2 separate regions of the Homo sapiens genome follow, and region 1 is linked to region 2. Evidence: promoter capture Hi-C in 16 types of primary human blood cells and fetal thymus (Javierre and others, 2016). All regions are on one chromosome and are shown on one strand. Each heading gives the region's core, a stretch centred on a gene start or on the middle of the fragment in contact. The rest is flanking DNA. Distances are from core to core; before and after follow the strand shown. Region 1 has its middle 50 kb from the start of LINC01549. Region 2 holds the start of C21orf91-OT1 (C21orf91 overlapping transcript 1).

The links. The method cuts DNA at HindIII sites, captures the fragments that hold promoters and counts their contacts. A CHiCAGO score of 5 or more calls a contact.
Region 1: a contact is called between a fragment that was not itself captured here and the fragment with the promoter of C21orf91-OT1 in region 2, in 1 of 17 cell types (M0 macrophages). The highest score is 6.4, in M0 macrophages.

The regions. Positions count from the first base shown.
Region 1 is chr21:17,386,936-17,391,652 of GRCh38, reverse strand. No RefSeq gene overlaps it. Among named protein-coding and RNA genes, the nearest start is that of LINC01549, 50 kb to the left of the region's middle. The HindIII fragment of the contact is 675 bases long and covers 1,941-2,615 here.
Region 2 is chr21:17,789,597-17,793,758 of GRCh38, reverse strand. C21orf91-OT1 (C21orf91 overlapping transcript 1) reads left to right here and starts at 1,250. Exons shown (of 4, transcript NR_038871.1): 1 at 1,250-1,282. C21orf91 (chromosome 21 open reading frame 91) reads left to right here. Exons shown (of 5, transcript NM_001100420.2): 5 at 178-4,162. The coding sequence ends at 344. The region is part of intron 2 of LOC124900465 (a long non-coding RNA gene); the gene reads right to left. The HindIII fragment of the contact is 3,892 bases long and covers 1-3,459 here.

The DNA.
Region 1 (4,717 bases), core at 1,029-3,528, 400 kb after region 2:
TGAAGTCTCAGACCATTCCCAGTTCTTTATCGTAGTAAACTCTGGCTTCATTTCCTTTCTTGTACTTTCCTTGTACTTATACTTCTCAGGCTTAATATTTTGTGTGTGTGTGTGTGTGTGTGTGTGTGTGTGTGTGTGTGTGTGTTTTCTTTGCTAAGTTTGTACATCCTGATGAGATACAGTGGGAAAAGCATAGCATAGTTTCCGTAATATTCCTGTGAAGGATACCTGTCCTGTGTCTGCTCCCGAGAAACACTGTGATGGTCATTACATGGAATATGAAGCTTTTACTCTTTATTTTAATTCAATTTTATTTTTTTGAGATGGAGTCTCGCTCTGTCACCAGGTTGGAGTGCAGTGGCACGATCTCGGCTCACTGCAACCTCTGCCTCATCGGCTCAAGGGATTCTCATGCCTCAGCCTCCTGAGTAGCTGGGACTACAGGCACGCCCCACCACACCCAGCTAGTTTTTTTGTATTTTTAGTAGAGATGGGGTTTCACCGTGTTGGCCAGGATGGTCTCGATCACTTGAGCTCGTGATCCGCCCGCCTTAGCCTCCCAAAGTTCTGGGATTACAGGCATGAGCCACTGCACCAGGCCGCTTTTACTCTTTAAAAATGGTTAAGGACATCAAAGGCAGAATTATTGTTTTAAGCTGAATGAATATGATGAGACATAAGAACTACATGCAACATATATTCCTTGGAACAATCCTGAACCAGAAAGGAAAAAGAGAGAGTTTTGGACAGTTGGCAAAATTTGAATGGGAGAGTTTTCTTGTTTTGGGGAAATACACACTGGATTATTTAGGGATAATGGGACATCGTGTCTGAAGCTTTCTCTTAAAAAGTTCAGAGTATGACTAATGATAATGGATCACTTCCTCTCCCTACATATACACAGAGAGACGGGGTTGGTGTCCATGCATATTCAGAAAAATGTTAATGTTTGGACAATCTGAATGAAAGGGATACAAGAATTCTTTGTTCTGATCTGAAAGTTTTTATGTAAGTTATTTTAAAATAAATTATTTTTTATAAAGAGTGGCAGTAAATCCTGATTAGAAGTTCCATATTCAGGCAGGGCGCGGTGGCTCACTCCTGTAATCCCAGCACTTTGGGAGGCCGAGGTGGGCGGATCACGAGGTCAGGAGATCGAGACCATCCTGGCTAACATGGTGAAACCCTGTCTCTACTAAAAATACAAAAAATTAGCTGGGCTTGGTGGCGGGCACCTGTAGTCTCAGCTACTGGGGAGGCTGAGGCAGGAGAATGGCGTGAACCCGGGAGGCGGAGCTTGCAGTGAGCTGAGATTGCGCCACTGCACACCAGCCTGGGAGACAGAGTGAGACTCCATCAAAAAAAAAAAAAAAAAAAAAAAAAAAAGAAGTCCCATGTTCCTGTGAAGCTTATCAAGTGTGTCAGGTTTTACTGTAGAGAGCTCAGGCAGGAGCTGGCTGTCTTGGGGGATTCTTGGCTGTCGGTATTCATAGGGCTAGACAGTTTCCCTAAAGGACATTTTCATTATCTCCTATGATGGAGTATAAGTCTAACAGTCATTGTTCTGAGGGCCTACTACCAGAAGGGAACTAGAAATCTCACTCTTCTGAAAATAGACTGATTGAACATCTATGTTATCCAATGAACGTCTATGTTATTAATAAGAAACCTACCATCTTTTGTGACATGTAGTCACCTGCCTGCATGGACGGTGGGAGGAGACTGAAGAGTCTGTTACCTCCTTTTTCAGACTTTTAACAAATTCTTCTGTTTTCAGCCCTACTTGCAAACTTAACACCTTCAGAGGCCCCTGGTTCCTCTATTGATAGAAGTTTTCTGAGTTCATGAATCAACTTTCTTCTAGTTGTTTTTTTCTTTTTCAGGTACTCAGCAGAGCAGAGATATATGAGTCCAAAGCCATTTACCAAAGGTTATAAGCTTTTCATTTTGTGTACAATAATCATCTTTTTTTGGTGTACAGTAATCATCTTCTATAATCACCTTTTCTGTTCTCCTCATTTTTGTGGAATTATGCCCTTTCACATCATTTTTGTTATTTTAGTGGGGTTTCAGGAAGGAGTAAGAGAAATGTGTGTGTGTGTTTCCTATCACTTGCAATTAACAGGAAGATCTTTCATTACCTGAGCTTGTTTTTTATCGAAGATTAACTCCCTATGGGTCAGGAAGTAGACATACTGTGTAATCATTTGGCACAGACTCCAGGCTAACACTAAAATATTATTATATTGGGAAATGAGAATAAAGAGAACATTTTTTAATATAAAAAGGAAATGATTATTTCTTGGATGATAATTTTTTTTCAAACTGAACCTTTGATTTGTATTTTTTTATTCTTGGATTACTTTTTCTTCATAGTCCATCCATTGTTCAATTAAAATGGGCAAAGGAAAGAGGTCCAGCCCTTAGAATATTTTTATATTAAATAAATACTTATAAAGTAATAAAATTTTCATTTTGTTTCCATACTATGAATAGAAATAGCCTCCTTTATAATATCCCCAGAGTATGAATAATAGAGAAATTATTGATGTATTTAGAAAGACTTCTTTAAACATACTCTACATTTTTATCTCTGAGAAAAAGATAATTAAGCTTATGATTCCCAAATTGTGCACTGAGGCACCCCAAGAAGTTGCAGTGACCTCACAGGGGCCACACGACATATTGAAAATTCTCAAGAAAAACACAGAAACATTTGTTGGCTGCTGCATGAACTACTGGCTCAAAATACCTTATAATTTAAACCTTAGATTGTGCTGTAATGCTTTTCTAAAAGACATATCTTTGGAAGCTGGGTTTTCAGAAGTTGCTGTGATAAAAAATAGATACTATATGACAATTAACATGGAACGGGAAATAAGGGTGGTGGTGGTGAATTTGGTTCTAAAGGTTGGGTGTCTAGTGCCCAATAGGTGCATGTACCTCACTGGTAACTGTGATGGTGTTAAAATGTATCCAAAATTCTTTAACAATCTTCCCTTTAATGGATGAATCCTAATTCCTTTCCCTTTGAATATGGGCTGGACTTAGTAACTAGCTTTTGAAAACTAGAATGTGGCAGAAGGGCAAGTGTGAGACTCAGAAGTCTAGATCATACAAGGCGTTTCATCTTCCTCTTTGCTTTTTCCTGTTGATCACTCAGTTTTGGGGAAGCCAGCTGCTTCACGGCTTGAGCATGTGAAGATGCTCAAGCAGCCCTGTGGGTGTGCCATGTGGAGAGGAAATGAGCTCTTTTGCAAAAAGCCAGCAGGGAGCTGATGCCACTGGCCAATAGCCATGGGAATGAACCATCTTAGAAGTGGGTCCTCCAGCCTCAGGTAACCTTTCTGGTGACTGCATCCCCGGCCACCATCATGAAGGCAACCTCATTAGGGATCCTGAGCGACAGCCATCCAGATAAGCTCCTCTGGCATCCCTGACCCACAGAAACTATGAGATAATAACGACTTGTTGTTTAAGCCACTAAATGTTGGGGGTAATTTGTTATGAAGCAATGGGTAACTAATATAGTCAGTGTGAGATAATGAAATAGGCCAGGAACAGTGGCTCATGCCTGTAATCCCATCACTTTAGGAGGCCAAGATGGGAGGACGGCTTGAGCCCAGGAGTTTGAGACCAACTTGGGCAACATAATGAGACATTGTCTCTACAATTAAAAAAAAAAAAAATTAGCAGGGAGTGGTGGTGTGCACCTGTAGTCCCAGCTACTTGGGAGGCTGAAGTGGGAGGGTCACTTGAGCCCAGTAGGTCGAGGCTGCAGTGAGCTTGGGTCACTGGAGCCTAGGTCCAGCCTGGGTGACACAGTGAGACCCTGTCTCAAAAAAAAAAATTTTTTTTCCCATTTGTTTATGTGTGTAATTTTTTCAAACAGCGAGTAAGTTGTTAGAATGTAAATACTTCTTAAGTTGCATAAACCTAACTATGTAATAAACAGAACTTTTTTTTTTTTGGAGCATGCGAAAAAAGTTACTGAGACACTAACTGTGCCATACACTGACAAAATTTGGGTACCTCATCAGTAATTAAGTTAAAGATAGTTGCTAAATGTTTTTTCTCTTAATTTTTTAGGAATATACAATAATTCTCATCTATTTTTTGAATGTAGAAACTTATTACGTTTTGACATTGAAACTTTTTTTTTCTTAGTATGTCAGTGGGGAGAAGAATACATTTCAAATTAACCACCATCGAGGAAAGTTATAATTTTCTAGTATTCAATAAACATGAACGAAATCATTGGCTTATAGAGATGAAATATGTGAGGAGTAATATAACATTTAAGAATAAAGTAACTCGCACATACAGTGAAGAATGGAAATACCAGCTTATGGATACAGTAATATGTGAAGGCAGTAGGTGCCATTTCAAAGCAGCAGTTGGTTTACTAAAAATAAAAAGAGGCCAAGCGCCCTCTAGTGGTAGCTGTTGATATAATTTAATAGCAGAAAAAAACTAACACAAAGTGCCTTCCTTTACCTTGAGACAGTGTTTAAAAGGTACTTGTTCTTTACTTTATCAATACTATTAAACCCTTCGCTATGGCTTTGTTTTTGAAGTTTTTTTGAATGAAAGAACGCCACCAATGACTTTTAATGCCAAATTCAGCAGCATTGGGTAGTTTTTTTTTTCATATAGGAGAAACAAAACCTTTCCATATTACATTAAAAAAAGCTCAATGAAGCATAACATTTTCTCA
Region 2 (4,162 bases), core at 1-2,500:
GCCTAGGATGATCAGAACTGATATGCTTTGTAGAGAACAGAACTGTTTCCTTGGTATCAAATCAGTTTCATTGTGACACTTTGCCCAATGCATAGATTTCAGTTAGAGTTCTTGAAATATAAATCATAGCACCGGCTTTCTGCATACTAAAAATGAAAGTTTTTAAATCTTTTACAGAAGTTTTTGAAGAGTTAACTCACCAAGTGCAAGAAAAAGATTCTTTGGCCTCACAGCTCCATGTCCGCCACGTTGCCATCGAACAGCTTCTGAAGAACTGTTCTAAGTTACCATGTCTGCAAGTAGGGCGAACAGGAATGAAGTCGCACCTACCCATAAACAACTGACCTAAACAGACTTACTTCGTATGCCCTGCCCTTTATTGGTCTCCCAGACATGCAAACTTTGAAGAAGTTTGAAGAAAGTTGTGGTCCGTTTTTTTATGGTCATTAAATTTGCCAAACATAAGGCAGTATTTAACATCTTTGTCAAATAAAGCAGATCATTATACTCTAGTCTTCTAGGGCTAATCATTTTGGCTCATTTGGGGACTCTTTTTTCCCAGAATTACTAAACAAATTTTATCACATGTGACTACTTAAATATACTGTTACAGTGTCATTTTATTAAACATTTTAATTCACCTGTCAAAACAACAGATTAACTCCTTAGTGTAAACTACTAGAGATAATTTTTAAGAGGGAAATGGAATTCATATCACCTCTTATTTATTATGAGCAATATTTTAATATAAAAATTTTATATGTGAAAATGCTATTTTAGGTACTTTGCCATTCTCTTTATAAATGTGTATTTGAGTGGTTCTGTATATTTATTTACATTATCATGTGTGAATATGTTCACCCATATTTCAGGTCACTGCATTTTATTCTCTTAATACAATGTTTTCACAACGGTTACCTTGCTTTCCAAAGATAAATATATTTTGGATTAGAAATCTGAGTTGTTTTAATTTCTAATACCTCTTGTAAAAGAAGAATTAATAACTTTTTAAAGCAGTATTCAGGTAAATACAATACATTATTTTGTTTTCTAACAAAAGCAGTTCTTAGTTCAGGAAGAAAAGACTAATCTGGCTTCTATGTCAATTTGTCTCCATAGAAATGAAAGCCTCCTCTTGCTTCTTTCATTATTAGCTTCACACCAGTGACTGTGATGCATTAGAATTTGGACAGAGTAAGTCAAGCCTCACTTCCAATTCAAATATAATGTCTATCTTCAAATTGAGTGTGCTGTGAAATTGTTCTGTCTTTGAAAAAAAAAAGTAAGATTATTTTGTGTGCCACTTTGGGTAAAGTTTCAAGAATACTTAAACTGTCCAAATTGTATTATCACCATCATTGAACTTAGTGCTCAAAGAAAGCATTGTGAGGTATTTTTCTAAACTTTAGACTCTATAGAGAAATATAGGATTGTTCTACAGAAGAAAAGCAAAACTCCTAATTAAAAAAAAATAAACCTATGTATTAAGAGAATGTTCTCGTAAGTTGCCTATGATGCTTCCAAAGAGTTTTTATCTAACAGATTGTGCCAAACAGCTAGATAAATTTTAATAATGTATTACAGTAAAGGCTATAACCAATGCAGAATTAAAATGGGCTCTAAATTCTGTTTTTAACTCATGTTTAGAATGTACTTATGAGGTAGATCCTTGCTTGAAAGTATCTGCTGAAAAGCCCAGTAACGTGGCAGCTTCATGCATAAAGATATAAATGACATTTGCCTTAAATTTGGCAGCCTACCCTGGCTTGGGTCAGATTTTGTTGTTGAACACAAGAAAGTATTTAAGCAAAGAAACACTTCAGTTTAATTGAAAACAACTTTTTGTAATGCTGACGTGTTAAATTGGCCTGAGGGTATTAATTGATATCTGTTGATTTTGTTTTTCTTTGAAGTATAACATTACTTTTTGGAGGGAATTTTTGAAAGATGCTTTCGATTTCTCTCAATTCTTTAAGTCATGCAAAATGAATTTAAAATCCAGGGAGTATGGATGCATTGCCTTAGTTTTGATGAGCTTTAAATTAAATGTGTGCAATATCAAAATATTCAAACTTACAAGCTGGGTAAATACATTTCCTGATTAATATCTTAGTGCTTAATTGTTCCCACATTTTCAAATTTGACTTTACTCTTTTTTGGCGTAATTCAGTAAGATTGTTACCAGCCAGTGTGTTTGCACACATTTGGGTTTGTGTTTAGATGAGTTAGGGACAGTCATAAAAGTTGGGGATATGTTGCATTTGATATCAATAGTAGCATATTTCCAGAATATGAGCCATAAGTTGCAGTCCTGAATACAACAGTGTTATCCAAAGAAAGGAGTTTTCTGACAAATATACATAGCTTTGCTAATGAGTACGGAACAAGTGGATGAACGTGTGCATGTGCTAAGGTCTTAAGTGGGACTCTGATTTATTCCATTTAGATATTTCTACTTAAGCTCTAAAAAGGAGAGGTGCTCTTAAAAAAAACTTTGTGGTGCTGGTACTCACACTACTTTATTTGGATGAGTTCCTAGTAAAAAAAACTTTTTGTTGAAGTATTTTGCACAGCAGTTTATCCAAATGTTTGGTAAACTTATAATTTAGTCCTATGTTAGTTTTCTTAATCAAATATGCAATTACTGTGTATGCAAATATAAGTATCAGGTACAGAGTTGAGTTCTAACAAGAGAACATGAAATATCACAAATATTGTTTTCCACACTTGGCTATTCTCTACAGTTGTTAGTAATTTTTGAGAATGTTTTGAAGCATATCTCATGTACTACTGTTTAAAAAGTGGCAAAACAGACTGCCAGTCATCCATTACTAAATTTTCAGAGCTTATATGATTAAGGGGAGTGAGATAAGACAAATCTTTTTCACGTTCAGTTTTATAATTTGACACGTTAAATTGAGTTTTAAAAATTAGAAAAGTGTTTTTGACCACACAGGTTGTTCTCTTTAAAGTTCAGCCTTATAATGAAGCTAAAAATCAATTATGTTTTACTTTGAGATTATCATCTTATCCTTTGATCCTCATATTAATATCTAAATTAGTCTTTTTTAAAAGGCATGCACTTGAGACTCCAGTAATAGATGATTCAGGCAGCAGAATAGTGTTTTGTTGTGTCGTTGACTATGCACAATGGTGGAGCAAAGACACATTCTTAGTTTTTCAAAACACATGTTCATTTTACCACAAAGTGCCCATTTTTATATACATTTAAGGATTATTTTTTCAATGTCAAGTTCATGTTAGTGATTTCAGAAATATAGTCAAAATATATAGTCAAATATATCTTGACAGGCATCTTGAGATTTGGTTTTTCATTTTACTATATTTATGACTGAAAATGGTTTTGTGTTTTCTTTATGTTGTTTATATATTTTTTACCTTAGTGTTTACACTGGTAAGGCTTGTTAGTCCATTTTTGTAGTTTTTTTAAAGTAAGCTTTTAGATCTATTTGTGTTTTAATGTTTCCCAGTTTGGGTTTTGTTTTGTTTTGGAAGAATCTGCTTTCATTATTAAATTATAAAATGTAAATGCTCTAAAGTAGGAATTTTTAAAGAGTAAATTATTTGTGTAGCTTATTAGGAGGTTCAGGTTAGTGACCATAAAGTGGGTTACTTGTACATGAAAATTTGAAATGGTACCATGTAAAATTCTTCTATTGTCAACTTTTTCTGATGTATGCCAGTTCATTTACTGACAAATGTTGTTACTAAGTGCTTATTAAGAAGTGTAATACGCTATAAAAAAGTTAATACTTTTTGTTCAGATGTAAGGCAAAGATAATTGATGCCGTTTCAGTGTATGATTGTATTTTTAACTTTTACGTTGGTGGGAGTAACTATTTGAGGAAATTTGTGGTGAGAATTAGTAAGAGATAAAACCCCCAACAGTTTATTCTTACCAAGTAAAGTTTTGTGGTCATGGGGCAGGGAAGAGTTTATTTACCAGAATACTAGAGCCCTCACACAAAATAAAGGTAACTTGGAGGAGGGCTATAATGCTTGCATCTCAGTATTTTCATTTCACTTCATCCTTTCATAATTGCCTTGATTATGGTGCAGTCTAACCTATTAAGCAACTTCTGGCTATGGTAACATTGATATGAACCATATTATATCAAGTCTCCAAAACATCTAGTTTGTT